Linked DNA regions of Homo sapiens: regions 1, 2, 3 and 4 are each linked to region 5. Evidence: promoter capture Hi-C in 16 types of primary human blood cells and fetal thymus (Javierre and others, 2016). All regions are on one chromosome and are shown on one strand. The core of a region is centred on a gene start or on the middle of the fragment in contact, and the rest is flanking DNA. Distances in the headings are between cores, read along the strand shown. Region 1 holds the start of ASB16 (ankyrin repeat and SOCS box containing 16). Region 2 overlaps HDAC5 (histone deacetylase 5). Region 3 holds the start of HDAC5 (histone deacetylase 5). Region 4 holds the start of ASB16-AS1 (ASB16 antisense RNA 1). Region 5 holds the start of SLC25A39 (solute carrier family 25 member 39).

The links. The method cuts DNA at HindIII sites, captures the fragments that hold promoters and counts their contacts. A CHiCAGO score of 5 or more calls a contact.
Region 1: a contact is called between the fragment with the promoter of ASB16 here and the fragment with the promoter of SLC25A39 in region 5, in 11 of 17 cell types (total CD8 T cells, naive CD4 T cells, naive CD8 T cells and 8 more). The highest score is 9.3, in total CD8 T cells.
Region 2: a fragment that was not itself captured here is called in contact with the fragment with the promoter of SLC25A39 in region 5 in 1 of 17 cell types (naive B cells); the score reaches 5.2 in naive B cells.
Region 3: a contact is called between the fragment with the promoter of HDAC5 here and the fragment with the promoter of SLC25A39 in region 5, in 10 of 17 cell types (total CD8 T cells, naive CD8 T cells, naive B cells and 7 more). The highest score is 9.6, in total CD8 T cells.
Region 4: a contact is called between the fragment with the promoter of ASB16-AS1 here and the fragment with the promoter of SLC25A39 in region 5, in 8 of 17 cell types (total CD8 T cells, naive CD4 T cells, naive CD8 T cells and 5 more). The highest score is 9.2, in total CD8 T cells.

Annotation. Positions count from the first base shown.
Region 1 is chr17:44,167,301-44,173,020 of GRCh38, forward strand. ASB16 (ankyrin repeat and SOCS box containing 16) reads left to right here and starts at 3,404. Exons shown (of 5, transcript NM_080863.5): 1 at 3,404-3,790; 2 at 4,746-5,013. The coding sequence starts at 3,490. The HindIII fragment of the contact is 23,995 bases long and covers 1-5,720 here.
Region 2 is chr17:44,103,963-44,108,938 of GRCh38, forward strand. All of the region lies in intron 3 of HDAC5 (histone deacetylase 5), which reads right to left. Among named protein-coding and RNA genes, the nearest start is that of HDAC5, 17 kb to the right of the region's middle. RefSeq lists an enhancer at 1,321-1,972. The HindIII fragment of the contact is 1,962 bases long and covers 2,629-4,590 here.
Region 3 is chr17:44,120,343-44,125,534 of GRCh38, forward strand. It overlaps HDAC5 (histone deacetylase 5), which reads right to left and starts at 3,299. Exons shown (of 27, transcript NM_005474.5): 1 at 3,162-3,299. It overlaps LOC105371789 (a long non-coding RNA gene), which reads left to right. Exons shown (of 3, transcript NR_136415.1): 3 at 96-253. RefSeq lists silencers at 2,991-3,130, 3,181-3,280, 3,351-3,410 and enhancers at 3,501-3,660, 4,807-5,192. The HindIII fragment of the contact is 7,779 bases long and covers 1,719-5,192 here.
Region 4 is chr17:44,183,215-44,188,392 of GRCh38, forward strand. ASB16-AS1 (ASB16 antisense RNA 1) reads right to left here and starts at 3,503. Exons shown (of 3, transcript NR_049730.1): 1 at 3,351-3,503. TMUB2 (transmembrane and ubiquitin like domain containing 2) reads left to right here and starts at 3,758. Exons shown (of 4, transcript NM_001076674.3): 1 at 3,758-3,895; 2 at 4,462-4,529. The coding sequence starts at 4,495. RefSeq lists an enhancer at 3,082-3,616. The HindIII fragment of the contact is 11,845 bases long and covers 1-5,178 here.
Region 5 is chr17:44,322,253-44,327,671 of GRCh38, forward strand. SLC25A39 (solute carrier family 25 member 39) reads right to left here and starts at 2,571. Exons shown (of 12, transcript NM_001143780.3): 1 at 2,459-2,571; 2 at 1,226-1,325; 3 at 1,032-1,091; 4 at 556-600; 5 at 167-300. The coding sequence starts at 1,310. It overlaps LOC124904009 (a long non-coding RNA gene), which reads left to right and starts at 3,201. Exons shown (of 2, transcript XR_007065768.1): 1 at 3,201-3,369; 2 at 4,690-5,296. RefSeq lists silencers at 2,114-2,333, 2,354-2,783, enhancers at 2,884-3,073, 3,234-3,313, 3,364-3,423, 3,494-4,345, 3,604-3,653 and 1 more and a cis regulatory region at 4,318-4,995. The HindIII fragment of the contact is 4,927 bases long and covers 1,316-5,419 here.

The sequences.
Region 1 (5,720 bases), core at 2,154-4,653, 150 kb before region 5:
GGAAGGGGACACCCACCTGCCTTGGCCTCTCTTGGTCTCACCCAGCCTTGCCAGATTCTCAACCCTGGGAACCCAGCTGTGGGTGCCCAGCCAGGCCGTTGATGTGGCAATTAACACACCAAATGGGTGCCAACAGGGTTCATCAAGGCTGCATTTATAGAGGCATCTTTCTCTGAGGACCTCCAGGCTTTGCTTTGTATGATCTAATTCCTCCTCTGGGATCCCCCACCCTGGACTGCCACCAAGAGGCTGGAGCCAGGCAGAGAGTAGGTGAACAGTAGAGTAGGGGCAATGCCGGAAAAAGCCCAGGCTGCTGCCACCCACTTGGGCGGGCGGGTGGATGGATGTTTGCTCTGGCAGAGAACAGGGACCTTCGTTCAATGCACTACACATAAGAGGCCCGCCTGCCATGAGCCAAGTGCTCTGACTGCCAGGGCCTGCTCTGGAGCCCACATCCAGCATGGCAGACCCACATCAACAGCATAGATAGGTGCTTTACAGCGTGCCCCTGAGTCCTTCAGGAGTGCAGATTGGGCAGTGGCTGGAACTATAAGAGTCAGGCAATGGGTTGCTGAAGAGACCTCTCAGAGCAGGTGACCTTAGGGGTAGATCCTCAGGAAGGTGTTGAGGGAATTCTGAGCTAAGGGAATGGCCTGACAGGGAACGGTTGTGGGGAGCCGTGCGTGATGAGGATGCCTACCCTACGTGAGTGGCATGGGGCCAAACCAAGGAATTGGGGGCTTAGTTGAAAAGGGCAGGCCAGGTGCAGTGGCTCACACCTGTAATCCCAGCAATTCAGGAGGCTGACTTGGGAGGACTGCTTGAGGCCAGGATTTGGAGCCCTATTTTAAAAAAATGAAAGGACAGGTATTGGAAGGCAGCAGAAGTTTTTAAGCAAGGGAATTAACCATTTTAGACAGATCATTCCGGCAGCGGAGCAGAAGGGATATGGCCAGAGGAAGAAACACCAGGTGAAAGACTGAGTTGATCCAGGTTTAAGGCATTACATCGAGGGGCTGAACTTGAGACAGTCCCTGAAAATGTAAGAACAGGAGCTAGAACTTGCTTATGGGAAGGGCCTAGGGAGAGGAAGAAATAAAAGATCACTGGGCAAGGTGCTGCTGCAGGGCCAGGAGGCAGGACAGGCAGCGGGAGAAGGGCCAGGAGGAGCCCCAGATGCAGAGGGGACAGACCAGCCCTGCCTGCAGGCCGCTGTGCACTGAGTGAGCTCAGGGTGAGCAGAGCTTTTGAGCCCTCCCCTTCCCCAGCTTGGCAGGCACACCAGCTTGTGTGGTTTCACGGCTTCATTCCTCCCCCTAGAGGCTCCTGGAAGCACAGCTGCTTTCTCCTAAGAGTGAACAGGTCTGTGGCTTAAACATCTTAGGTCCATTCCCAGAGTTTCCAGCTCAACCCCTTGGCTCTCCTCAGGCCGGCCATGTGAGCCCCCTTAGCAGCTGGGTTAAAAAAATAAATCAAGGATGATTGAAGGTGCTGGGAGCTGTGGCTCACGCCTGTAATACCAACACTTTGGGGGGCCGAGGCGGGCAGATCGCCTGAAGTCAGGAGTTTCAGACCAGCCTGGCCAACATGGCGAAACCGACTACTAAAAATACAAAAATCGGCCGGGCGCGGTGGCTCACGCCTGTGATCCCAGCACTTTGGGAGGCCGAGGCGGGCGGATCACGAGGTCAGGAGATCGAAACCATCCTATTCTTGGCTAATACGGCGAAACCTTGTCTCTACTAAAAATACAAAAAATTAGCCAGGTGTGGTGGCAGGCGCCTGTGGTCCCAGCTACTCGGGAGGCTGAGGCAGGAGAATGGCGTGAACCCGGGAGGCGGAGCTTGCAGTGAGCCGAGGTCGCGCCACTGCACTCCAGCCTGGGTGACAGAGCGAGACTCCATCTCAAAAAAAAAATAATAATAAATAAAAATACAAAAATCAGCTGGGCATGGTGGCATGCACCTATAATCCCAGCTACTCAGGCAGCTAAGGCAGGAGAATCACTTGAACCCCAGGAAACGGAGGTTTCAGTGAGCCGAGATCACCCCACTGCACTCCAGACTGGGTGACACCATGAGAAAAAAAAAAAAAGGATGATTGAAGGCAGTTTCTACAGACTAGTCTGTCCTGCTTGGAGAATGGGGGAGGCTGCCAGGTGGCTGCAGCAGCTGAAGGCAAAAAGTGTACCATCTTTTTTTTTTTTTCTTCTTTTTTTAAGAGATGGAGAGGCAGGGGGTGGTGGCTCACGCCTATAATCCTAGCACTTTGGGAGGCCGAGGCGGGCAGACCACGAGGTCAGGAGTTCGAGACCAGCCTGGCCAACATGGTGAAACCCTAAATTAAATCTCTACTAAAAATACAAAATTTAGCTGGGCATGGTGGCGGGTGCCTATAATCCCAGCTACTCAGGAGGCTGAGGCAAGAGAATCGTTTGAGCCCGGGAGGCGGAGGTTGCAGTGAGCCAAGATCGTGCCATTGCACTCCAGCATGGGAGACAGGGTGAGACTCTGTCTCAAAAAAAAAAAAAAAAAAAAAAAAGATATAGGTCTCACTGTGTTGCCCAGGATTGTCTCAAACTCCTAGGCTCAAGCAATCCTCCTGTCTTGGCCTCCCAAAGTGCTAGGATTACAGGCATGAGCCACCATTCTTGGCCCAAAGCACACCATCTATGTGGGGTCCTGGCTCTGCCTCTCACAAACTGTGACCTTGAGCCAGTAGATTACTTTGTTAAGCCTTAAATTCCTCATCTGTAAAACAGAGATAAGACCACCCATCTCAGGGGCATTCAACTGTGATAATTTCATTTATTGTCCAAACCAAGTTTACTAATTATTGGGTGGGCTGGGAAGTATGATCCCCTGGGTGAAGGTGGATATGAATGTGATTTAAACACCGTGAAACTCTGTGCATATGTACAGAGTTATTGCTGTTACTGCAGATGCTGGGAAGAGCTGCTCACCTTCTCAGTAACTCTGCCTTGACCTCCCCTTACCTCCTGTGCTGAGGTCAGCCCTCTCTCCTCCACGTGGGCCAATGGTGGCTCCTGCCCTCCAGCCAACATCAGAGAGGCTGGAGGCACCTTGTCTTCCTCCCAGCCCTGCCCATCTCCATGACTGACCTTTTTGCGCACCCTGGACCTTGCCAACCCAAGATGCTCGCTCTAGAGATGAAGGTGGATGCAGATGCTGGGGTTCGGGGGTGGCCTCAGCTGAGGGCCTGCTGACCAACCAAAGGGTATCGGCAGGGGCAGGGGCTGGCCCTCACCCTGGGCTGGGGGTTGGGCCAGCAGCTTCTCAGCACCAGGATCATGACTCTGAGCAAACCATGTTTACCAGAGCAGCAAAGGACCTATTTATAGCCTCAGCTGCTGCTTTCTCTGGCTCACGGTGGCGGGGGCAGGGTGGCTCCTCAGAGCAAGGGAGGTAGTCGGGTCGAGGGAACCTGGCTCTGCCCAGGTGCCACTGCCCAAACCCCTGGGCCCCATCCATGGCAAGAGAGACCTTCCCCTTCACCTCCTCCATGCTGCGCTCTCTCCGCCTGCAGCAGGAGTGGCTGGAATGGGAGGACCGGCGGCGGGCGGCTGCCCAGCAGTGCCGGAGCCGCAGGTGCCCGTCAAGTCCCCGGGCCCGACTCACTAGGCCTCACCGTTCCTGCCGAGACCCAGCTGTCCACCAAGCCCTCTTCTCCGGCAACCTGCAGCAGGTCCAAGCCCTGTTCCAAGATGAAGAGGCCGCCAACATGATTGTGGAGACTGTGAGCAACCAGCTGGCCTGGTCGGCTGAACAGGGTAGGGGGCACCAGAAGAGGGCAGAAGAGGAGGGAGAAAGAAGGGGAGTGGGTGGGGAAGGGGGAGAGTCTAGGCCCCTCCTTCCCTGCAGACCACAGACTATAGCAGCCCTTTCCACCACCTATCCTAGCTCCCTCCTAAACAGAGATGAGGCAGGGTTAGCAGTCTGTATGTCTTTTAAGAATTAAAAGTTGACCGGGCACAGTGGCTCACGCCTGTAATCCCAGCACTTTGGGAGGCCAAGGCAGGCGGATCACGAAGTCAGAAGTTTGAGACCAGCCTGACCAACATGGTAAAACCCCATCTCTACTAAAAATAGAAAAATTAGCCGGGCATGGTGGTGCGCACCTGTAATCCCAGCTACTCAGCAGCTGAGGCAGAAGAATCACTTAAACCCGGGAGGCGGAGCTTGCAGTGAGCCAAGATAGCGCCACTGCATTCCAGCCTGGGGGACAGAGCGAGACCCTGCCTAAAAAAAAAAAAAAAAGAGACAAGGTCTCACTATGTTGCCCAGGCTCATCTCGAACTCCTGAGGTCAAGTGATCATCCCGCCTTGGCCTCCCAAAGTGCTAGGATTACAGGTGTGAGCCACCACCCCAGGCCCCAAGGTGAACAAGCCTTTGACACTATTAGCCATTCAAAGACGCTGAGATTTCCTTAATGGGAGTCACTCTACTTAGTTGGCCCCTGTGGTTTTATACAGCAATTAATTTTTTTATGACACATACTATGTTTTGTTACAGATTGATAAGCTGTATTAAAAGGCTGTTCCAATTTATTCTTCCACTTCAGGACTTGAATAAGCCCCCTTCCACAGGTACAGCCTGGCAGTGTTTGTGCTCAGCAAACCATGCAGAGGGAAGGCCAGTGTCAGCTGTCAGCTGGAACCAGCATCCCCACTCCCTGCCCTGCCCTGTCTTATACACCACCTCCCAAAACTATTTGCTCTCCCTAGGGTTCTGGGTGCTGACCCCCAAGACCAAGCAGACGGCACCCCTCGCCATCGCTACAGCCCGAGGCTACACAGACTGTGCTCGACACCTGATCCGGCAGGGAGCTGAGCTGGATGCCCGTGTCGGGGGTCGCGCTGCCTTGCATGAGGCCTGTGCCCGAGCCCAGTTTGACTGTGTGCGGCTGCTGCTGACCTTCGGAGCCAAGGCTAATGTGCTGACTGAGGAGGGCACGACTCCTTTGCACCTCTGCACGATCCCCGAGTCCTTGCAGTAGGTGCCTGGGGGCTGAGACAGTTTGGGGAGAAATGTGTGTGTGTGTCTCCAGCTCACAAGGCCAGAAGAGGGAACCTGACAACCACATGCAGCTTTGTGGTTCATAAAGCACCGCATATACACATCTTCACAATAACCTGGAGACACCTCATCCTACAGATGAGAAAAATGAAGCTCAGAAAGGCTTAGTAACTTGTCCAAGGTCACATCTGCTAAGCCCAGGAGGCAGAAGCCCTGTTGCTTTTTGGGAAAACTCTGTTCCAACTGCAGTCTCCAATACCCTGTGAATCCTTTGTAGCCAAACCTAGCTGTTTTTTTTTGTTTTTTGAGACGAAGTCTTGCTCTGTTGCCCAGGCTGTAGTGCAGTGGCGTGGTCTCAGCTCACTGCAACCTCTGCCTCCTGGGTTCAAATGCCTCAGCCTCCCAAGTAGCTGGAATTACAGGTGTGTGCCACCACACCTGGCTAGGTTTTGCATTTCTAGTGGAGATGGGGTTTTGCCATGTTGGCCAGGCTGGTCTTGAACTCCTGTCCTCAAGTGATCCACCCACCTTGGCCTCCCAAAGTGCTGGGATTACAGGCGTGAGCCACCATGCCCAGCCCAAATTCCTAGTTGTTTTGAGGTATTAAGAAAGATCTGGCCAGGTGTGGTGGCTCACACCTGTAATTCCAGCTACTAGTAGGTCGAGGCACAAGAATCGCTTGA
Region 2 (4,976 bases), core at 2,360-4,859, 220 kb before region 5:
CTCCCAAAGTGCTGGAATTATACGCGTGAGCCACCATGCCTGGCCTTCTCAGGATGTTTCTGAAGTGCATAAAATCGGCTGGGTGCAGTGGCTCACACCTGTAATCCCAGCACTTTGGGACCCCGAGGTGGGCAGATCACTTGAGGTCAGGATTTCAAGACCAGCCTGGCCAACGTGGTGAAACCCCGTCTCTACTAAAAATACAAAAATTACCCAGGCATGGTCTCACATACTCGGGAGACTGAGGCAGGAGAATCGCTTGAACCCAGAGGCGGAGGTTGCAGTGAGCTGAGATTGCACTACTGCACTCCAGCCTGGGCAACAGAGCGAGACTCTGTCTCAAAAAAAAATTAAAAAAATAAATAAAAAATAAAGTGCATAAAATGAAATACTTAAGAATTCCCAAATCTTTTAAGTGGGGCCAACTTCACAGACCACCTGGATTCTAAGGGTGCCAGCCTCAGAATCCCACCAGAGGGAAGTCTTAGCACTCATTTCAGACTGTCTGAATGTCACTCTGCGGTCCTGGCACAAACAAAGCCCTTCTTGTGGGTCCCACACAACACAAACCCGTGCAGCCAGCGGCTGGGTGTCGATGCCAGAGGAGGAATCTCTGAGAGCAGCTTCCTTCCCACTCCCGCACTTCCAGGCCATCTCACCTGCCTCGCTACCTCCAGGAAGGGCCACTCTGTGCTCTTGGCTCAGGCCACAATTGTGGGATCCCTTTTGTCCCTCAAAAACATTACTTAGCACAGATAAGCACAAGTTTTGGGCCTTGCTCTCGGGGCCCCCAGCTGCAAGCAGTCCAAAATTCTTCCCTGGGCTCCAACCTCACTGAGCCCCACTGCAGGTGACACCTCTCTCCCCAGTTCTATTCCACATCCTCCCGGGCTGAGGACATAGGAGGCCCTAAGCCCCTCTTCCCACAAAGCAGACACAATGTGAAACTGACCTCAGAGACCCTTAGAGTGTCAGGGAAGGAAAGGCCTGAAGACCAGCAACTCAATTCCCCCTGTTTTCAGAGGGAGGAAAGTGAGGCCAGAGAAGGAAGAGACTTGTCCAAGGTCACCTGGAAAGGAGATGGAGGACCCAGGGCTTAATCCCAGCTCTTCTGGCTCTCTGTCTTCTCCCCACTAAAAAACAGAAGGGGAAACATTAAGGCCCGGTCTCAAACTGAATGAGAGATGCAACAAGGGGCCAAACTCTGTATTAAGGATCCAGAGGTCTAGACAAGGGCACCTGGTTGGTCCCCAGAACATCTGAGCCCAGGGGTGCAGGGGAGAATGGGATCAAGTGCAGGGAACCCCCAGAAACCTTGAGGCAGACTGTGACTCTGAAGGACCTTAAGCTCGGGATGCAGAGCCCTGATGGAAGGCATAAAACATCTCTCACTGGTGCAAATAGAGTTAGTAGTCGATCCTGGGATGCTCTCTGGAGAAATAGACTCACATTTCCCAGTCCAGCCATTTCTAGCATATACCTGGGTACAAAGCTACAGGCAAGTAAAAGGCACACTAACCATTCAAAGTCTGCAGCTATTGCTAGGACTGTTTGCTCCACACCTGGGGTGGAATGGCAGGGGCTCCAGAGCAGATCTGCCTCCACTCCCTAAGCACAGCACAGCCCTGGGTGTCCAGCAGGGCACCCTGCCCACCTGGCTGCTTGCCATAATCCCCCATTCCACTGGGGTTTAGACACCTGCTCCCTGGCGGCTGGAAACATCCTCTCTCCTGACTGACAGGCGGCTGGGAGTTGGATTCACCTCTTTCTAGGGCGACAGCCTCCCTCCTCCTGTATAGGCCCTTCTCCCAGGAGTCCCAAGACCCACTAAGGCCTTCCAGGGATGCTGATGACATCTACTGGCTGACTGCTGGGCCCTGTGACCCATGTCCACACAGCTCTTACTCCAAGGATGGGCTCAGTCTACTCGCATCAGAATCACCTGAGACATGAGTTTAAATCACTGGTTCCTGGGCTGCCCTACAGAATCCAAACCTTTGTTGGGGGGGCAGGGTGTCAAGGCCTGAGAATCTGCATTTTAATACGCTCCCTTGGTTAATTCTGATGCGACCAAAAGTTTGAGAACCACTGCCTCACAGCGTCCCCAGGCTGCCTCCTGCCAACCTGACAGCTGTTACAGCTGTGTGCATGGACACAGTTAATCTGATTTCCTGTCTGGCAGCTGTGTGGCAGGGAAGGGACAGCTGAGGGTCTCAAAAACAAGAAGAGGGGATGAGGCAGGGGGAGGGGGACACAGGAGGTTGTATGGGGGCTGGTGTTCAACTTTATTCCTGAGCCCCTCCTCTCCTTGGGCTAAAATCCCCTCAGGGAGAAAGATCACAGACCAAGTGGTCCTCAGTATTTACAGAAAACAAAGCCTCCTCTCACAACCCCAGGAGGCCCCCAAGGCTAGAATGGTTCCTGTGCTCTAGGAGCACAAACTGTGGACGCGCACTGACAGGCCCAGCACTTAAGGCTGTGTAGGTGGCATATTGCACATGGGCTCTCGTCTAAAGGGGTGAGTTGGGGCTGACATCTAGCCCAAGCTCCAATCGCCAGGCCATGCACACTGGCATGAGGACGTATCTACCCAGAAGAGGGCCACCTTTTAAAAATCTGCACAAAAGAAGCTTTTTTTTTTTTTTGAGGCAAAGTCTTGCTCTTGTTGCCCAGGCTGGAGTGCAATGGCGCAATCTCGACTCACCGCAACCTCTGCCTCCCAGGTTCAAGCGATTCTCCTGCCTCAGCCTCCCAAGTAGCTAGGATTACAGGCATGCACCACGTCGGCTAATTTTTTGTATTTTTAGTAGAGACGGGGTTTCTCCATGTTGGTCAGGCTGGTCTCAAACTCCCAACCTCCCAAAGTGCTGGGATTCCAGGTGTGAGCCACCGAGCCCGGCCAAAAGTAGCTTTTATGTGGATTAGCAATGGTCCTACCCAGACACCTGAGTTCAAATTCCAGCTCTCACTTACTCTGTGACCTTGGGCAGGTTCCCTTTTTTTAAGAGATAGGGTCTTGTTATAGCGCCCAGGCTGGAATGCAGTGATCATGGCTCATTGCAGCCTCAAACTCCTGGGCTCAAGCAATCCTCCTGCCTCAGCCTCCTGAGTAGCTAGAACTACAGGTGCATGCTACTGTGCCTGATTAATTTTTTTTTTTACATTTTTTTGTAGAGACAGGGTCTGGCTATGCTGCGCAGGCTGGTCTCAAACTCCTGGCCTGAAGTGATCTTCCTCCCTCAGGCTTCCAAAGTGCTGGGATTACAGGTATGAGCTACCATGTCCAGTAAGTTCCTTAACCTCTCTGAGCCTTCTCAATTATACACCACAGCTATCAACACTGTCCTAAAACAGATATGGCAAGGGCCGGGCGTGGTGGCTCACGCCTGCAATCCCAACACTGTGGGGAGGCTGAGGCAGGCGGATCACGAGGTCAGGAGTTCGAGACCAGCTTGGCCAACATAGTGAAAACCCATCTCTACTAAAAATACAAAAATTAGCCAGGCACGGTGGCGTGTGCCTGTAGTCCCAGCTACTCGGGAGGCTGAGGCAGGAGAATCGCTTGAACCCAGGAGGTGGAGGCTGTGGTGACCCAAGATCGTGCCACTGTACTCCAGCCTGGGCAAAAGAGGGAGACTCCGTATCAAAAAAAAAAAAAAAAAAAAAGGGCAGGGAAAGTACCTGATAGCCTTGTCACTCAGTGCATTATAATAGTTCCACTCTCACCCCTGAGTCTTGCACTTCTTACCCTCCCGGCACTACATACCTATACACACAGCCAAACCCAGAAAGACTGAAGAGCACGAACACGAATATCCAGGGAAAGCCCTAAGACCAAACCTGGACCCCATGGCACTTCCCAGTGTCCATAGCATTCCTTCCTGGCACAAGCAGGATTCACACCCTCCCTCCATGGGAAAAGCAGACTCCTCCTCCATGCCATCTCATAAAGTCCTGCGTATTGTCTGGGCATCAGCTCCACCCAGTACAAGACAAAGGGGAATCCAGGGCCCACATAAGGGAGGCAGAGAATTCCCCACCTCTGTGTCCTTGAGAATCCCATACTAGAGTTCAAACTCCCAGGCTCCCCAAGCCAGAACTAAGCTGGGATGATGGTGGTGCCCACTGTGCACTGGGGAGCTGTGGTAGGGTGGCCAGGCAGAGACCCCATCCATCAAGGAAGACCTCTGATCGCTAAGAGCAGATGCTGAGATCCGCCCCACTCTTTAAGCAAGAACAGCAGACTGCCCCTGTCCTTCGGTAGGCTAAGGCTCTGTCTTACCCGCTGGGGTGACTCACTAAAGCTGTCTCTATTCACCCAGAGGTCCAGGCCCCAGAATAGAGCCCAGGAATCCTGCCAGCAATTCTGGACTCCAGCCCTCCCCATGCGACATTCATTCATCCATGTGCCAGGCACTGTGCTAGGTGCTGGGCAATGGCAACAACCAAGACAGCCCAGAGAGCAAAGGCTATCCCTAAAATAGGGTTCTAAAGATGCTGCTGGAGGTGGCAGGCAGGCACCACCCTCGAAAGACCCTTGCCCCAACCCCTTGGGCTTGGGAGACCTGCGCAACTCACACCATCCAAAGAAGCTTCCCTGGACACCTGCTTTTTCAGCCATAGGATCTTGCATCCTGTCTGGAGACCGATCAAGAGATGGGGAGAGGGGGTGGGGAGGGAAACACCAGGCTGCCTGGGCCCTCATGGCCGTGTTTATCCGGGGTGGATTTTTTTTAACCCAAAGGTTAAAGTGTTTCTATTTGAAACATCTATTTACATTCCAGAGTCCAAAAAAAAAACAAAAAAAAAACAAAAAAAAAACAAGGCTGCCGAGCTCCAGGCCTATATCTGTCCCTAGCCGCGTCACAGACACAGCATCAGAGCTGCGCAGGGGGAACATTCTTAGCCCTCTCCCCGAGCCGCTGAGGTGACTCACGCCTCCCTCCTGCCAGCATGGACCAAGCCACCACTCTGAA
Region 3 (5,192 bases), core at 2,049-4,548, 200 kb before region 5:
CCCAGGCCAGGGTACCCCCTAGGTCATAGGTGACAGGGTCAAGCAGTGTGAATCAAGTCTTGGGAGTCTGAGATTGTTTCACTCTACCCCGACAGTTTCATCAAAAATTACAAACCGGCCAGGCGCGGCGGCTCACGCCTGTAATCCCAGGACTTTGCGAGGCCAAGGCAGGCGGATCACCTGAGGTCAGGAGTTCCAGACCAGCCTGATCAACATGGAGAAACCCTTTCTCTACTAAAAAAATACAAAATTGGCCAGGTGTGGTGGCGCATGCCTGTAATCACAGCTACTCGGGAGGCTGAGGCAGGAGAATCACTCGAACCCTGGAGACAGAGGTGCGGTGAGCCAAGATTGTGTCATCGCACTCCCGCCTGGGCAATAAGAGTGAATCTCCATCTCAAAAAAAAAAAAAAAGTTACAAGCCAAGACATCCCACCCAAAGGTCAAAGGCACTAGGAATTTATCTTGACCCCTCCTGACCATGGCCACAGCCTACCACTTTCCTCAGCCTCTGAGAGCTTCTGTTGCCTAGTGCCTCCCCCAAGCTAGGCCAACAGAAGCCCAGAAGGATCAGAGCCATGAAGGGTGGCTGACTTGGATGTCCAGGCCCCAAACCAGGGAAAGGGGGAGGGTGACAGGGAAGGAAAAAAGGCACCAGGCTGACAAATTCATTTTTGCAATCGGCCCATTTCTGTTTGTCTGCTCAGACGCAGCTCCAGGCATCTGCACAAGCCAGATGGAGGAGGCTGCTATTTCTAGAAAAAAAAAAAAAAAAAAAAAGAGAGGGGGGTGGTGAGAGGGGAGGAAGGGAGGAGGCGGAGGCAGAGGGCAGAAGACGGGGTCTGTTTGCCCTAAAACCTCAGGCAGAATGATACCCTCTTCCCAGCACTACCAGGCAGGGTCCCCATTCAAGAAAGGGCTGCGGCTGGGCCTGGGGTGAGGTGGGATAGGGAAGAAGAAAGGCAGAGAAAGTTTAATTAGCTAAAGTCGGCTACAATAGGCCCCCTCACGGGCTACATCAGGTTTTCATTCATGAGCAAGCTACAGTGCTCCAAAAATGCCAAGAACCACCCCCCCTTGCTGTCTCCCCCTTCCCCCCCCTACTGCCACCAACAGGAGTGCGTCCTCTAGCAGGCTGGCTGAGCCTAATGCTGTGTTCCAGACATCCCTCCTCAAAGGGATGTGAGTAGGAAGAATTAATTATTAAAGAGCAGCTGGTACTTCAGCACCGACTGCACTACCCCCAGCTCCTATAGCTGATGCCCCCTCCCCCACTATGCGGGAACACAAATGACCCCCGCCCAACATTCCCAGGCCCCATTTCTAAACACACAATTAAGATGCCACCCCTACGGAAGGCAAAGCAAACCTTTGTCTCTGCAGCTACTTGGGGTGGGTGGGGCATGTGAAACTGCTGCCCCCCTCCAAATTACATGATCCAGCCAAAGTAGGAGGATATATTGGAAAAGAAGGGGAGGCTGGCACAGAACTAACATTTCCTCCATCCTTGCCCCCAAGTAACCCACACTTGAGATCTGTCTCTCTGGTCTCTGGCATGCCCACATTCCCAGGACAGAGTGGAGATACTGGGGGCCCATTTCTCTAACTCAGAGAGACCCCTACTGCTTTGTCAAGAAAGCCCAGATCCAAGTTCAAGTGAAGAGAGGGCAAAGAGAGGAGTCAAGAAAAGAGGAAGGAGACAAACCAAGATCTCCCCAAGCTTTGTGTTTAGGGAGGGAGAGGAAGGAGGGAAGACTGGAATGAAGAAGCAGGCAGCCCCCAACATGGCTCATCCACCATCCAGCCCAGCCAGCCTAGCCCAGCCCAGCCCAGCCCAGCATCTCAACAGCCAGCATAGGCTCAGGGTGCCTAGGACTGGGGAGACTGAAGACCATGCCTGCCTGCCTACATCCTCTGAAACTAAGAGGAAGCCAAAGGCAGGACCCAGACCCAGACTGCAATCCTGCAAGGCAATCTGGCTAGGGGTCCCTCTGACCAAGACTCCTGGATCTCACCCTCCCCCCCACCTCCTTTTGTTCCCATAATCTGGCTCCATCCTCCCCTCCCAGTTGGACACTGAAACCAATCACCACCACCTCCCCAAGCTCCAAATCTAATCCCAGATCCCAAAAGCATGGTGGTCACTGACTGAGTGATGGGTCCCTTTTGCACCCTCCTAAAAGCAACTGCAGCTGTTACCTTTCCTCTTTAGGGACACACCTCATTTCAGAAGGGGTATCAGCCAGGGGTATCAAGTGGTCATCTCCTCTCCCAAAGGAAGCACCCAACCTCCCCACTTCAACAGCCCCCACCAAGCTCCCAGATTAATTACTTACACCCAGCCAGTTCTCATCTTCCCCAGGGCCCCAGGGAAGGGTGGGGTGGAGAAGCTGACTCCCCCCAAGTTAATAAGGCACTGGTAGTGCCCCCGCTTCCATGAGATACAGATCCAGGATGAAAAATGGGGGGCATCCACCCAAGACAAGAAGGGGTTGGGGGGGAGCTCCATTTCATCTCCTAGCTCTCGCATCCTGGCTCCAAGGTGTCAGACAGGAGAAGAGGGTGGCAACAAACGCAGTAACGCCTCACAGGAGACGGGGTGAGAATAATGGGAGAGAGAAGTAAGGTGGACTCCGCAGTCCCCCTCCTCATGCACGGAAGTCAAGGACATAAAATCAAGGATGCGTTCGTAGCTATGGGGAGAAGCGCTCTGGGTGGACAGCACCCCTCACCTCAGAGTACCAAGAAAGGGGTGTCCAGCGAAGAGGGGTCTGCACAGAATCCGGGTGCAGGGCTCAAATGGCTCTGCAACGCAACATGCGCCGCCAGGGAAGGGGCAAATCAGACAACCCCGGCCGGTCTCCGAGCCATTTGGGGGCGCAGGGCGCGAGAAGGCGGGCCCCTCCCTTACCTGTAGGGAAGGCGCCCCTGTCTGGGAGGGGCAGGGAGGGGCGCGCGCAGCAACCCCGATGTCCCGCTCACGGGCTGCCGATGCTCCCGGGGGGCGCCGGCTGGCTCCCAGGGCCGGGAGGAAGGAAGGGGGGCGCGGAGCGCGGCGCGCGCGCTGGGAGCCCGCGGACAGAGACAGCAGGAGGAGGGGGCGCCGCCTCGCGTCCCGGGGTCCGGGGAAGATGGGATCTGGGCCGGGGCGGCGCGCTCACCCGCTGCGGCTCGAGCTCCGGCTTCGCGGGCGGCGGCGGCAGCAGCGGCGGCGGCAGCGGCGGCAGCACCTCCTCGACGGCTCCTCCATCTTTGCGGCGGCTCCTCCGGCTCCGCTCGCCGCCGCCACCAACAACAACATTCGGAGACGTCACTCCCGTCACGTGACCCGACCCGGAGCTAAAAATAGACCCAGACCCCCCCCCCAGCCCCCCCCGCCTTCCCCTTGCCCGCAGCCACCACCAACCCCTCCCCTGCCTCTCGGCCCTCCCCGCCGGGCGGGGCCAGCGACGCCATCGTGACAGCTCCTTAAAGGGCCAGTGCCCAGCACAGGGTTCGGCCGAGACGGGGTGGAAGGGAAGGGATCGGAACCCAGCGAGCAGGAGTGGAAGGATCGCTGCAGGGGCCGAGTATGGATGCTGGGGCTCAACCTTTGGATTGTAAAAGTTTCCTCCTTGCGCTCCCCGGACTTTCTTTTCAAAACGTGGATGGTGCAATCGTCGCTTGCCTAAGCTGCTCCCCTAACACGCCCTCCCGCGGTCGGGGAGGGGACCTGGGGATAGATTCCCAGGGGCTGGGAGGGCCACCGCAGCCTCTGCAGCGGGGCCTGGCTGCGGGTGGATGGTTCGGACAAGTCTCGAACTCGCCAGCTCTGACCGCACACACTGCATCCGTGCCAGGGAAAGAAAAGCCTGGGAAAGGCCAGGGTATGGCTGTAACACTCCAAGGCCTTCAAAAGGGCAGACCAGCAGACCAGGAGCCGGAAAGACTTCCCTGACTTTGGTGCCATCCACGCTACATCTCCTCTTGGTACACAGTATGAACATGTTTAATTAGACCTAGACAATTTGTCAATGACCCAGCAATTCCACTAACAAAAATGTATTCCAAATAAATAAACGTTGTTATGTTAAAAAATGAACATGAGATTGTTTGTAATGATGTGAAAAGTTGAAAACAACCTAAATATCCATCGATAGGGAATTGGCAAGCAAAGCAGGAGACATTCATTCAGTAAAATATTATCCAGACATTAAAAGTTTTATAGGGGACCGGGCATGGTGGCTCACGCCTGTAATCCCCGCACTTTGGGAGGCGGAGGCAGGCGGATAACCTGAGGTCAAGAGTTTGAGACCAGCCTGGCCATTATGGTAAAACCCCGTCTCTACTAAAAATACAAAAAAATTAGCCGGGCGTGGTGGCAGGCGCCTGTAATCCCACCTACTCAGGAGGCTGAGGCAGTAGAATCCCTTGAACCTGAGAGGCGGAGGTTGCAGTGAGCCAAGATCGTGCCATTGCACTCCAGCCTGGGCAACAAGAGTGAAACTCTGCCTCAAAAAAAAAAGTTTTAAAGGGGCCAGGTGCATTGGCTCTTGCCTGTCATCAATCCTAGCACTTTGGAGGCCGAGGCGGGAGGATTGCTTGAGCCCAGTTCAAGACCAGCCTGGGTAACATGGCGAGACACTGTCTGTATTTTAAAAAAGAGGCCGGGCGTGGGCCGGGCATGGTGGCTCACGCCCGTAATCCCAGCACTTTGGGAGGTCGAGGCTGGTGGATCACGAGGTCAGGATGTCGAGACCACCCTGGCTAACACAGTGAAACCCGTCTCTACTAAAAATACAAAAAATTAGCCGGGCGTGGTGGTGGGCGCCTGTAGTCCCAGCTACTTGGGAGGCTGAGGCAGGAGAATGGAGTGAACCCGGGAGGCGGAGGTTGCAGTGAGCAGAGATCGCGCCACTGCACTCCAGCTTGGGGAACAAAGCGAGACTCCGTCTCAAAAAAACAAAAAACAAAAACAAAAGAAGAAGAAGAGGCCAGGCGCGGTGGCTCACGCCTGTAATCCCAGCACTTTGGGAGGGCGAGGCGGGCTGATCACAAGGTCAGGAGATCGAGACCATCCAGGCTAACACGGCGAAACCCTCTCTACTAAAAATACAAAAAAAAATTAGCCGGGTGTAGTGGCGGGCGCCTGTAGTCCCAGCTACTCGGGAGGCTGAGGCAGGAGAATGGCGTGAACCCTGGAGGCAGAGGTT
Region 4 (5,178 bases), core at 2,253-4,752, 140 kb before region 5:
AGTCAGCAGTCTTTTTGCTGAGGGATCCTAGGGTCTCCAGTCCCAATACCAGTTGGAGTTATACAGTGGAGACAGGGATCCAAAGTCCTGGGGTCTGCCTCCTGCTGCAGCTGCCCAACTTTCCCTCCTCCAGGAGAGTTATATCTTTGGGATTCCATTTCATCAACACAAAGACAGTTTTTTCACCTTGTTATGCAGAATGCAACACCCCCTTTCTGGATGAAAATTTGTGCTTTAGTTTTACAGAGCCAAAAGGCCTGACAGAAGAAAAAGAACTCCTCCCTAGAGAGGGAGGCTGGGAGCCTCACTCTCAGGGGCAATGCTGAACTTTCTACCCCTTTACAGCACGCCGACCACAGCCAGCTCAGCCTTTTCTGATATATTTACAACTACAAAAGATACCGTTAAAAAAGAAAAATACCTGGGTGCAGTGGCTTACGCCTGTAATCCCAGCACTTGGGGAGGCCGAGGCGGGTGGATCGCCTGAGGTCAGGAGTTCAAGACCAGCCTGGCTGACATTGTGAAACCCTTTCTCTACTAAAAATACAAAAAGTAGGCCAGGCGCGATAGCTCACGCCTATAATCCCAGCACTTTCGGAGGCCGAGGCAGGCAGATCACCTGAGGCCAGGAGTTCGAGACCAGCCTGGCCAACATGGTGAAACCCTTCCCTACTAAAAATACAAAAATTAGCCAGGTGTGGTGGCACACACATATACTCCCAGCTATTCAGTAGGTTGAGGCAGGAGAATCACTTGAACCTGGGAGGCGGAAGTTGCAGTGAGCTGAGATCTCCCACTGCACTCCAGCCTGGGTGACAGCAAAACTCGTCTCCAAAAAAAAAAAAAAAAAAATCAGGATACAAGGCCAGGTGTGCAAATCCTGTTGGTGGACAAATCGCCTCTTTGGGGGCAATTTGGCCACTTCCTTAAACACTGTTCCCAGTTACACAAAAGGCAGGCTACATACAGGAATATTCCTCTCAGCGTTGCTTGCAACAACTCATGTTGGAGTGGTTAGACAAATCCATATTACCCATGGCAGGAAAGAACTAGGGAGGGATTCCAAGTGACCAGCATGTGTACTGCCTTGGGAAGATCTCCCAGAGTGGTTTTTATTGATTGATTGAAACGGGGTCTTTCTGTATGCCAGGCTGGAGTGCAGTGACGCAATCACAGCTCACTGTAGCCTTGACCTCCTAGGCTCCAATGATTCTCCCACCTCAGCCTCCCAAGTAGCTGGGACTACAGGCACACACCGCCAGGCCTGGCTAATTTTTAAATTTTTTGTAGCGACAGGGTCTCGCAATGTTGCCCATGCTGGTTTCAAACTCCTGGACTCAAGTGATCCTCCCACCTTAGCCTCCCCAAGTGCTGCAATTACACTCTAGAGCCACCATGCTCAGCTGAAGACAATTATTTTCCTTTACATTTTTTTTTATTTTGAGACGGAGTCTCACTCTGTCTCCCAGGTTGGAGCATAGTGGCGCGATCACAGCTCTCTGCAATCTTGACCCTAGGGTCAAGCAATCATCCCACCTCAGCCTCCTGAGTAGCTGGCTCATGGCTCACTGCAGCCTTAACCTCCTAGGGTCAATCATCCCACTTCAGCCTCCTGAGTAGCTGGGACCACAGGCACACGCCACCATGCCCAGCTAATTAATTTTTTTTTAGAGATGGGGGTCTCACCATATTGCCCAGGCTGGTCTTGAACTCCTGGCTCAAGGGATCCTCCTGCCTCAGCCTCCCAAAGTGCTGGGATTACAAGTATGAGCCACTGTGCCCGGCTTTGTGAATGTACTTAATGCCACTGAATTGCAAACTTAAAAATAGTTAAAATGGTTTTAAGTTTTATGTTACGTATATGTATATATTTATCTTTAGAGATAGAGGTCTCCCTGTGTTGCCCAGGCTGGCCTTTAACTCCTGGGCTCAAGTGACACTGCTGAGTCAGCCTTCAGAGTAGCTGGGACTACAGGTGCATGCCACTGTGCCTAGCTATGTTTATTTTACCACAATGAAAGGACTTACAAAAAAGAAGCTAGACACCGAAGAGGATACACAGTTGGATTCCATTTATAGCAAGTACAAAAACAGGAAAAACTAATGTATGGTGACAGACGTCAGAATAGTGATTACTCTTTGGAGGTTAATGGCTAGAAGAAGACATGAAGGGGGAGATTCTGGGGTAATTCTTTCTTTTTTTTTTTTTTCCTGAGACAGAGTCTCGCTCTGTCACCCCAGCTGGCGTGCAGTGGCTCCATCTCAGCTCACTGCAACCTCCGCCTCCCAGGTTCAAGCCATTCTCCTGCCTCAGCCTTCTGAGTAGCCAGGATTACAGGCGTGCGCCACCACGCCCGGCTAATTTTTGTATTTTTAGTAGAGACGGGATTTCACCATGTTACCCAGGCTGGTCTTGAACTCCTGACCTTGTGATCCGCCTGCCTTAGCCTCCTAACGTGTTGGGATTACAGGCGTGAGCCACCGCGCCAGTCCTAATTATCTATTTCTTGATCTAAGTGCTACTTCTGCCAGTGTTCAGTTGGTAGAAGCCACCGAGCTTTTTGCTTATGTTTGCCCCTGTCTGGATTATTTATCCTTTAATCAGTAGTTCTCCAAAACCCCAAACTCCAGCGCTTTTTTTTTTTTTTTTGGAGACAAGGCCTCCCTGTCGGGTGCAATGCAGTGGCTCAGATCATAGCTCACTGCAGCCTCGAACTCCTGAGCTCAAGCGATCCTCCCACCTCTGCCTCCCAAAGCGGTGGGATTACAAGAGTAAGCCACTCCCCCCGGCCACAGTAAGTTTTTAGAAAAAATTTTAATTGCGGCCGAGCGCGGTAGCTCACGCCTGTAATGCCAGCACTTTGGGAGGCCGAGACGGGGGCGGATCACCTGAGGTCGGGAGTTCGAGACCAGCCTGACCAACATGGAGAAACCCTGTCTCTACTAAAATACAAAATTAGCGGGGCGTGGTGGCGCATGCCTGTAATCCCAGCTACTCGGCAGGCTGAGGCAAAAGAATCGCTTGAACCCGGGGGGGCGGAGGTTGCAGTGAGCCGAGATCGCGCCATTGCACTCCAGCCTGGGCAACAAGAGCGGAACTCCCGTCTCAAAAAAGAAAAAATTTTAACTGCAAAAATCTGGATAAGTTCTTGAAAGCTGGACTTTTCCCCCTTTTTGTGTCCTAAGCCTGCGCCGAATCTGTGCCTTCTTTGAAATGCTTTCCCGCCTTCTTTCTCCGGGTCCCACACTACCTGGGGCCGCACTCTTCAAGCACTGGATGCTGACTAACTGGTCTCCTTATCTGTCTTCCCGACTGGCCCAGAGCTGAGTTCTTACTAATCCCCGCTAACCTGGAGTTAGGTGCGCGTTGCAAAGCAGTAACGAATCCAATCAGCCGGGGAGGCAGACAGCAGGGCCGGAAGAACAAAGCTGGAAAGGGAAACGTCGCACCGGCTCTGCCCAGCGGCGCCAGCCCGGGCAACCTTCCGCAGTCGCGAAGCCACGCCCCTTTCCCAAGTACCTCCGCGCTAACTCCTCCCCCCTGGCCCCGCCTCTCACCCTGGATTGCCTAAGGCCCCGCCCACCAGGCGTGGCCCCGCTCTGGGAGGGCCGCAATCCCGCCAACAATGACTCCACCCCTCCTTCCGCTGAGAAACCTGTCCCTTTTATTTAAAGAATACCTTTTACGTCAGCCCGTCTTACGCAGCTTCGCGTCATCAGTGCAAGGCGCGGAGGCGGGACTTCCTGTCCCTGGTATAACAGCTTCCGGGAGAAGCCGGAAGAGACCGGACCCTGAACAGAATCGCAGATTGCCAGCCCTTTTCCCGACCCCTACGGAAAGACGAGTCCAGGGGCCGTCCTGGCGAGGTCAAAACATTTAGTCTGGTCTTTTCAGGTGAGGACTTCCCCATCCAGGCACAGTGCCGGTCCAATCCCCCTTTAATTTCCCATGACTCCTCGCGTCCTGAAGCCCCGCCCCCAGTTCCCCAGCCCCGCCCCGAAGTTTGAGGGGTGTGGACGGTTTGTGACCCCCTTAGCCGACCCTACTCCTCACTGGCCGGGACAACTGGTCTTATCACGGAGGCTGGGGCCAGGCAGCCCTTCGGTTCGGGTGGGCCCATGGACCCCAGTCCAACGCCGAGGGAATAGGACCATCCAAAAGCGGAACCTTCGCCTCAGAAAAAGGGTGCGGGACCCCTCCTCACCGTGCGGTCACGGTACGGACAGGGTAGATCACAGGCTGAGGGACAGAGCAAAGACCCCTGAGGCCGGACACCTGGGGTCCTGCCGGGCCCCTCCCCACGAGAGTTCCCTGTGTCTGTGCCAATCGTTTTCGTCTTTCTTTGCCGCAGTTTCTTTTCCTGTAAATCATGGTTAATAACATTAACCTTCTTACCATCAGGGGTTAGTTGTGGTTGTGATAAATAATTACTACCGTTATTAAGCAATTGCAATTTGCAGTGTGCCAGGCACTGTGCCAAGTATTTTGCTTCGATGATTTCACGTCATCTTCAAAACAACCTCATGAGGTAGGTACTGTTTTTAACCCCATTTTACTGATGAGAAAGCTGAGGCTCTGAGAAAGTTGTCTGAGGTGTTATAGCTAGTAAGACGCAAGACTGGGGTTATAATTAGTTGTTTTTCTAACTCCAGGGCCGGTATATTAAATAAGGATGTTGATGTGTTCCACAGATAATTCTTTGAGCAACTACTGGGGCATTATATTGGACACTTCAGTACCAAGAGAAATACATACGATCCTTGTCTACCAGGAGTCTAATAGAAAGATGGACAGGTACATAAGTATAATGAAGTTTTATAGGTGCTGTGAGAATAGTCTGATAATGGTAATCACCAGACTGGATTTGCCCAGGGACAGCTGTGAAAGCAGCAGATTCTCCAAGGGAAATAGTAGGTACTCCAAGGAGCAAGCAGGGACCCTTCCTGCCTTTCTAAGAAACTGCAGCAGCAGAACCTTCACAGTGAAAGAAGAGAGACTGAGATATGGATTGTGAGAGCTGTTATGGAATCTTTTTCAAATCACTCCACTTGGGGAGTGGTCATTGCAGGAGTGGGCCCATGGTGACCCAGGAAGGTGGTGCTTCTGGTGTCTGTCCCAAGTTGCTCCCCAGGGCTTGCCAGAAGTTTCAGAGGCGGCACATAATGTCTGCTGCATAG
Region 5 (5,419 bases), core at 1,321-3,820:
AAAACAAACACCCCATGGAGGTACTGCCTTCTCCGGAAGCACTTCCTGACGGAACCGGCTACCTCTGCGTGCCTTGCCCAATCCCTTTACTCCTGGGTCTGCTGCCCAGCCAGACCGAACTCCTCACGGACACCGACGAATCCCTACGGACCCAGCTGCTCCTCACCATGGTGCCAGTGAAGCGGGTAGGGTCTTGAAACCAGGTGGCACAGCGGGCACCATTTGGGCACAGGTACAGAGGCTCCAGGACACCATTGCAATACAGGAGGCACTTCCCTGTGGATTGGAGAGAGGAGGGCACTGGGGAAAGGCAGGGGGCATTATAATGACAGGATCCTAGAACCTTGCAGGGAGGCAGTGGGCCCCTATCCCTGGAAGGCCAGTAAAGGCCAGGTCCCTGTGTGGATGTTCTGGTGCAGGTCACAGGACTGGCTGGCAGGACCTGGGAGTATATGCTAGTCCATGGCTGTGGAGCCCACTGGTGCCCTGGGGACAGGGACAAGGACTGTCTCCCCCTTGCACCCTCCCATGCTCCCTGTGGCTTGGGGCACTCACATTTGGTATAGGAGAGGCTCCACAGTCTGGAGGAAGGCATCAGCTCTAAAATACAAGGCAGCCCCTCAAGTCAGGAGAGCCCCCACCCGCCCTAGGGACCCCATCTCTGGGAGATCTTTTTATTTTATTTTTTGAGATGGAGTCTTGCTCTGTCGCCCACCCTGGAGCATAGTGGCACAATCTCAGCTCACTGCAACCTCCACCTTCCCGGTTCAAGCGATTCTCCTGCCTCAGCCTCCCAGGTAGCTGGGACTACAGGCGCATGCCACCAAGCCCGGCTAATTTTTGTAGTTTTAGTAGTGAGAGAGTTTCACCACGTTGGCCAGGCTGGCCTTGAACTCCTGATCTCAGGTGATCCACCCACCTCAGCCTCCCAAAGCGCTGGGATTACAGGTATGAGAAACCACGGCCAGCCTCTGGGAGATCTTTCTTTTGCCCAGGCACCACCCCTCACTAGTTCCAGGTCAGGTACTCACCGCTGGCCATGGAGGGCCGCTGAGACTGCAGGCGAACCTTCACCACGTCCAGGGGTGTCACTGGGGGAGGAAGCGGGTCTGAAGGCTCCTTTCAGGACCCCACCCCTAGGACTCCTCCCCCAGGACCACACAGCCTCCAATCTCCGGTCTGCCCCATCCCCACCCGCCCCCACCCCACCTCCCCTAGGTCTTACTGAAGAGAGAGGTAACCACAGCCCCGGTGCCTGAGGCCACCATTTGCTGGAGGGGGCTGATGCCCGCAGGGTCCTGGTCAGCCATCTTGAAGCTTCAGTCCTGAAAACCAAACCTCAAACAGACCACAACTCCAGGGATGGCAGGAAAGGAGGCTGGGCCACTGTGAGACTTTTGTTTTGAGACGGCGTCTCGCTCTGCGCACTGTTGCCAGGCTGGAGTGCAGTGGCACCATCTTGGCTCACTGCAACATCCACCCCCGTTCAAGCGGTTCTCTTGCTTCAGCCTCCCAAGTAGCTGGGACTACAGGCGCGCACCACCACGCCTAGTTAATTTTTGCATTTTTAGTAGAGACAGGGTTTCACCATGTTGGCCAAGATGATCTCGATCTCCTGACCTCGTGATCCGCCCGCCTCAGCCTCCCAAAGCACTGGGATTACAGGCGTGAGCCACCGCACCCGGCCCACTGTGAGACTTTAACCCAACCCTCATCCACCGCCCTCGAAACATCTGTTGCCTCAACAACCCTGGCAATGACCTCTAAAGCAGGGACTGTCCGCCCCCCTCCGCCGGGGAAAACTAAGGCTCGGGGAGACGAGGTGGCCTGCCCAAGGTCACTCAGGAGTGGTTCCGAAGGAAGCTAGGGTGCCAGACCTATCGCTCGAATGCAGTAGGAGCCAGGGTCCTTCCCTCGTCCACCTCGCACGTGTCCACTGCGCACCTCCTACGTGCAGGCGCGGATTTGGCCCTCGTGGCCCCAAAATCAGAGTACCTGTGCTGCCCCCACAGCCCCCACTCCAGCACCAAGGCCCCGGGCAGGCACCTGAGAGCCCAAGTTACTGGGCGTGGAGGGACGGCCGGGCATCGAGGGTGACGTGTAAACAGATCCGGTGACCAAGAAGGGCCCGTCGCCTCCTCAGGACTGCGGGCTGGGATGCCCGGCCCTCCCCGCCCGGCCGGACGGGCCAGACCCGGGGCCCGGAGAGAAAGAGCAGTCTCTGGGTTCCCGCCCCAAAATGCAGGCCCGGGGCGCAGCCGGGAGAGCGGGAAGTAGGAACGTAGGACCAGGACGTCTCCCCGACCCTCGGCGACACTCCCGGCCCCGAACGGCGGAGAGCCGCCAGGTGAGGGGGACCACGCCAGCTCGACGGCCCCAGCACCTGCCCTGGCTCGCACGGCCGCCCGGAGACCCCCGCTTCCGTCTCCGCCCCCAGCCCCGGCCCAGTGCCGCCTACCTGGCTCTAGGCTGGTGCTCGTGCGGCGCGGCGCCCAGGGTCAGGCGGGCCCATACCGGCTCCGCCGCCTGTGCGCGGTCCGCGCGCGCTCGCAGCGCACCTAGGCCGACGCCGAAAGCAGCCAAGGGGGCCCCGCCCCTACACCGCGCCACGAGGCCCCGCCCGCCGCGGGCCGACCAGCCGCAAGCCCGGAGTGTCCCCGGCTCCGCCCACTCGCGTCTCCGCCCGGACCTGCGACGGTCCCGCCCCCTTGACGGGGCCGCGCGGGCGAGTTCCATGCCTGTCCAGCGCTGAGAGCTGCCGGCCAACTTCGCGGTCTCCACGTCGCGCTTAACGTGGCAGCAGCACGCACTTCCAGCATCTTTTTTTAGACAGCATCTTTTTCAGCCTCGCTCTGTCGCCGAGGCTGGAGGGCAGTGGCGCGATCTAGGCTCACTGCAGCCTTGACCTCCCGGGTTCAAGCGATCCTCCTGCCTCAGCCTCCGGAGTAGCTGGGACCACAGGCGCGCGCCGCCACGCCCGGCTGGTTTGTTACTTTTATTTTTGTCTCCCTATTTTGCCCAGGCTAGTCTGGAACTCCTGGGCTCAAGCGATCCGCCCACCTCGGTCTTCGAAAGTGCTGGGATTCCAGGCGTGAGCCGCCGCGCCGGCCTTAACAGCGCATTTTCACCAGCCCCGCCCCGGCCGCGCGCGGCACTGGAAACCCCAGCGCCTTCTGGACGGCGAGGGTGACGCACTGGCCCTCTTCCTCGGTGTCCTCAGGTGCGTGGCGGCGGCAGTGAGAATGAGTTCTTCGAGATCGCCGGGAGACCACACAATAACGACGAAGTTACTTGCCGGGCTACCCGCCGAGACTTGAAAACTTCGCGGCGACTTCTCTCGCCGGCCTTAGCATCGCCCCCATTTTTCAGGTTACAGGACAGGCCTGCAACTGCAAAACGCTTTGTAAACCACAGGGCCCCGCGCGGGTGTGCGCCACTGGGTTAGCTGAGCTGCAGCCCGGGCCGGGCGGGCTGGGACGTGAGCAAGCCGGGGGAGACGGGAGAGCCATGGGGAGCCAGATCCCACCTTCGCGTGACCTTGGGCAAATCACAACCTCGCCTAAGGCCCGGAATGACTCTGCGCGGAGAGGAAGAGCACTGAGTGCGGGAGGGCATCGACGTTTTGGTGTTGGTTGCTCTCGTATCGTGATTTCTTCTGAGTCTCAAAACTCTTTGCAGTAGGTTATTGTTGAAATAGATTACCACAGGCCGGGCGCGGTGGCTCACGCCTGTAATCCAGCACTTTAGGAGGCCGAGGCGGGCGGATCACTTGAAGTCAGGAGTTCGAGACCAGCCTGGCCAACATGGTGAAACCCCGTCTCTACTAAAAATACAAAAGTAGCCGGGCATGATGGCTGGCGCCTGTAATCCCAGCTACTCGGGAGGCTGAGGCAGGAGAATCGCTTGAACCCGGCCGGCGGAGGTTGCAGTGAGCCGAGATCGCACCACTGCATTCCAGCCTGGGCAACAGAGTAACACTCCGTCTCAAAAAAAAAGGCCGGGCGCAGTGGCTTACGCCTGTAATCCCAGCCTTTTTGGAGGCCGAGGCGGGCGGATCACCAGAGGTCAGGAGTTCGAGAGCAGCCTGACCAACATGGTGAAACCTCGTCTCTACTAAAAATACAAAAAATTAGCCGGGCGTGGTGGCGCATGCCAGTAATCCCAGCCACTCGAGAGGCTGAGGCAGGAGAATCGCTTAAACCCGGAAGGCGGAGGTTGCGGTGAGCCGAGACTGCGCCATTGCACTCCAGCCTGGGCAACAAGAGCGAAACTCCGTCTGAAAAAGAAATAGATTACCCCGTTTTACAGAAAGTGAAACTGAGGCTCGACGTGAAGAGCCGGAGATTCGAACCGGCCGGGTGCTTTTCCCAGGGCTCCACACTGCCTCCCCGGGAGACAGGAAGGCTTAAGTCCAGCGCTGCCCTCTCCGATCCCGCTTGTCAGGGAGACACTTTATTTCCCGGGGCAGCCCCGTACCCCAGGCCCCACCACCCACTTCGCGTTTAGAACTTCTGTGCTATCTTGCTTATTTGTCCTAACAGAGAAACCAGCACGCGCGGGCGGTGGCGGAGGGGGGCGGGCGGGCGGGTGGAGGCGGGGGGGGGCGGGCGGGGAGATGGGTACTCCTAGCCTGCGCCTTTAAGAAGGGTAGGCCTCGACTTTGACGTCTCTGCCTTCCCCGCCCTTCAGGCCCCCACTGGTCGCGTCCGGCGCTGGAGGAGCCCAGTCAGCCGGCGCCTGCCGGGTTAGCACGTGGACTCCGAGGGGCCAACTATCAGCTTTCCCTGACAAAATGCCTTTGAGCTCCCCCACAGCTCTGAAACTCCAGCTTGGGAGCAGGGAGAGTGCAATCTGTGACCTGTAAAGGGGCGCTGGGCAAAAGGGCCCGAGAGAAGGCGTCCTTTCCATTCCCTTCCCATCTCAAGCTGAGTTCAGAAATGACACGAAATAATTTAATCAACTATCAGTCAAGGTCGGGCTCACGCCTGTAATCCCAGCAGTTTGGGAGGCCGAGGTGGGCGGATCACCTGAGGACAGGAGTTCGAGACCAGCCTGACCAACATGACGAAGCCCCGTCTCTACTAAAAATACAAAAATTAGCCAGCGGTGGTGGTGCGCACCTGTAGTCTCAGCTACTTGGGAGGCTGAGGCCAGAGAATCGCTTGAGCCCGCGAGGTCGAGGCTGCAGTGAGCCGAGATCACACCACTGCACTCCAACCTGGATGACAGAGGGAGACTCTGTCTCAAAAAATAATAAATAAATAAATAAATAAATAAACTATCGGTCAAGGTGAAAGCCTACTCTCCGCCAAGGTTCTTTACAACTTAGACGTTTTGGTTTACGGAACAGGGGAGGAAACTGAGGGCTCTTGTGTGTAGTGACTTTACTCGTGTGGAGGAGAACCCAGACTTTCCCTGC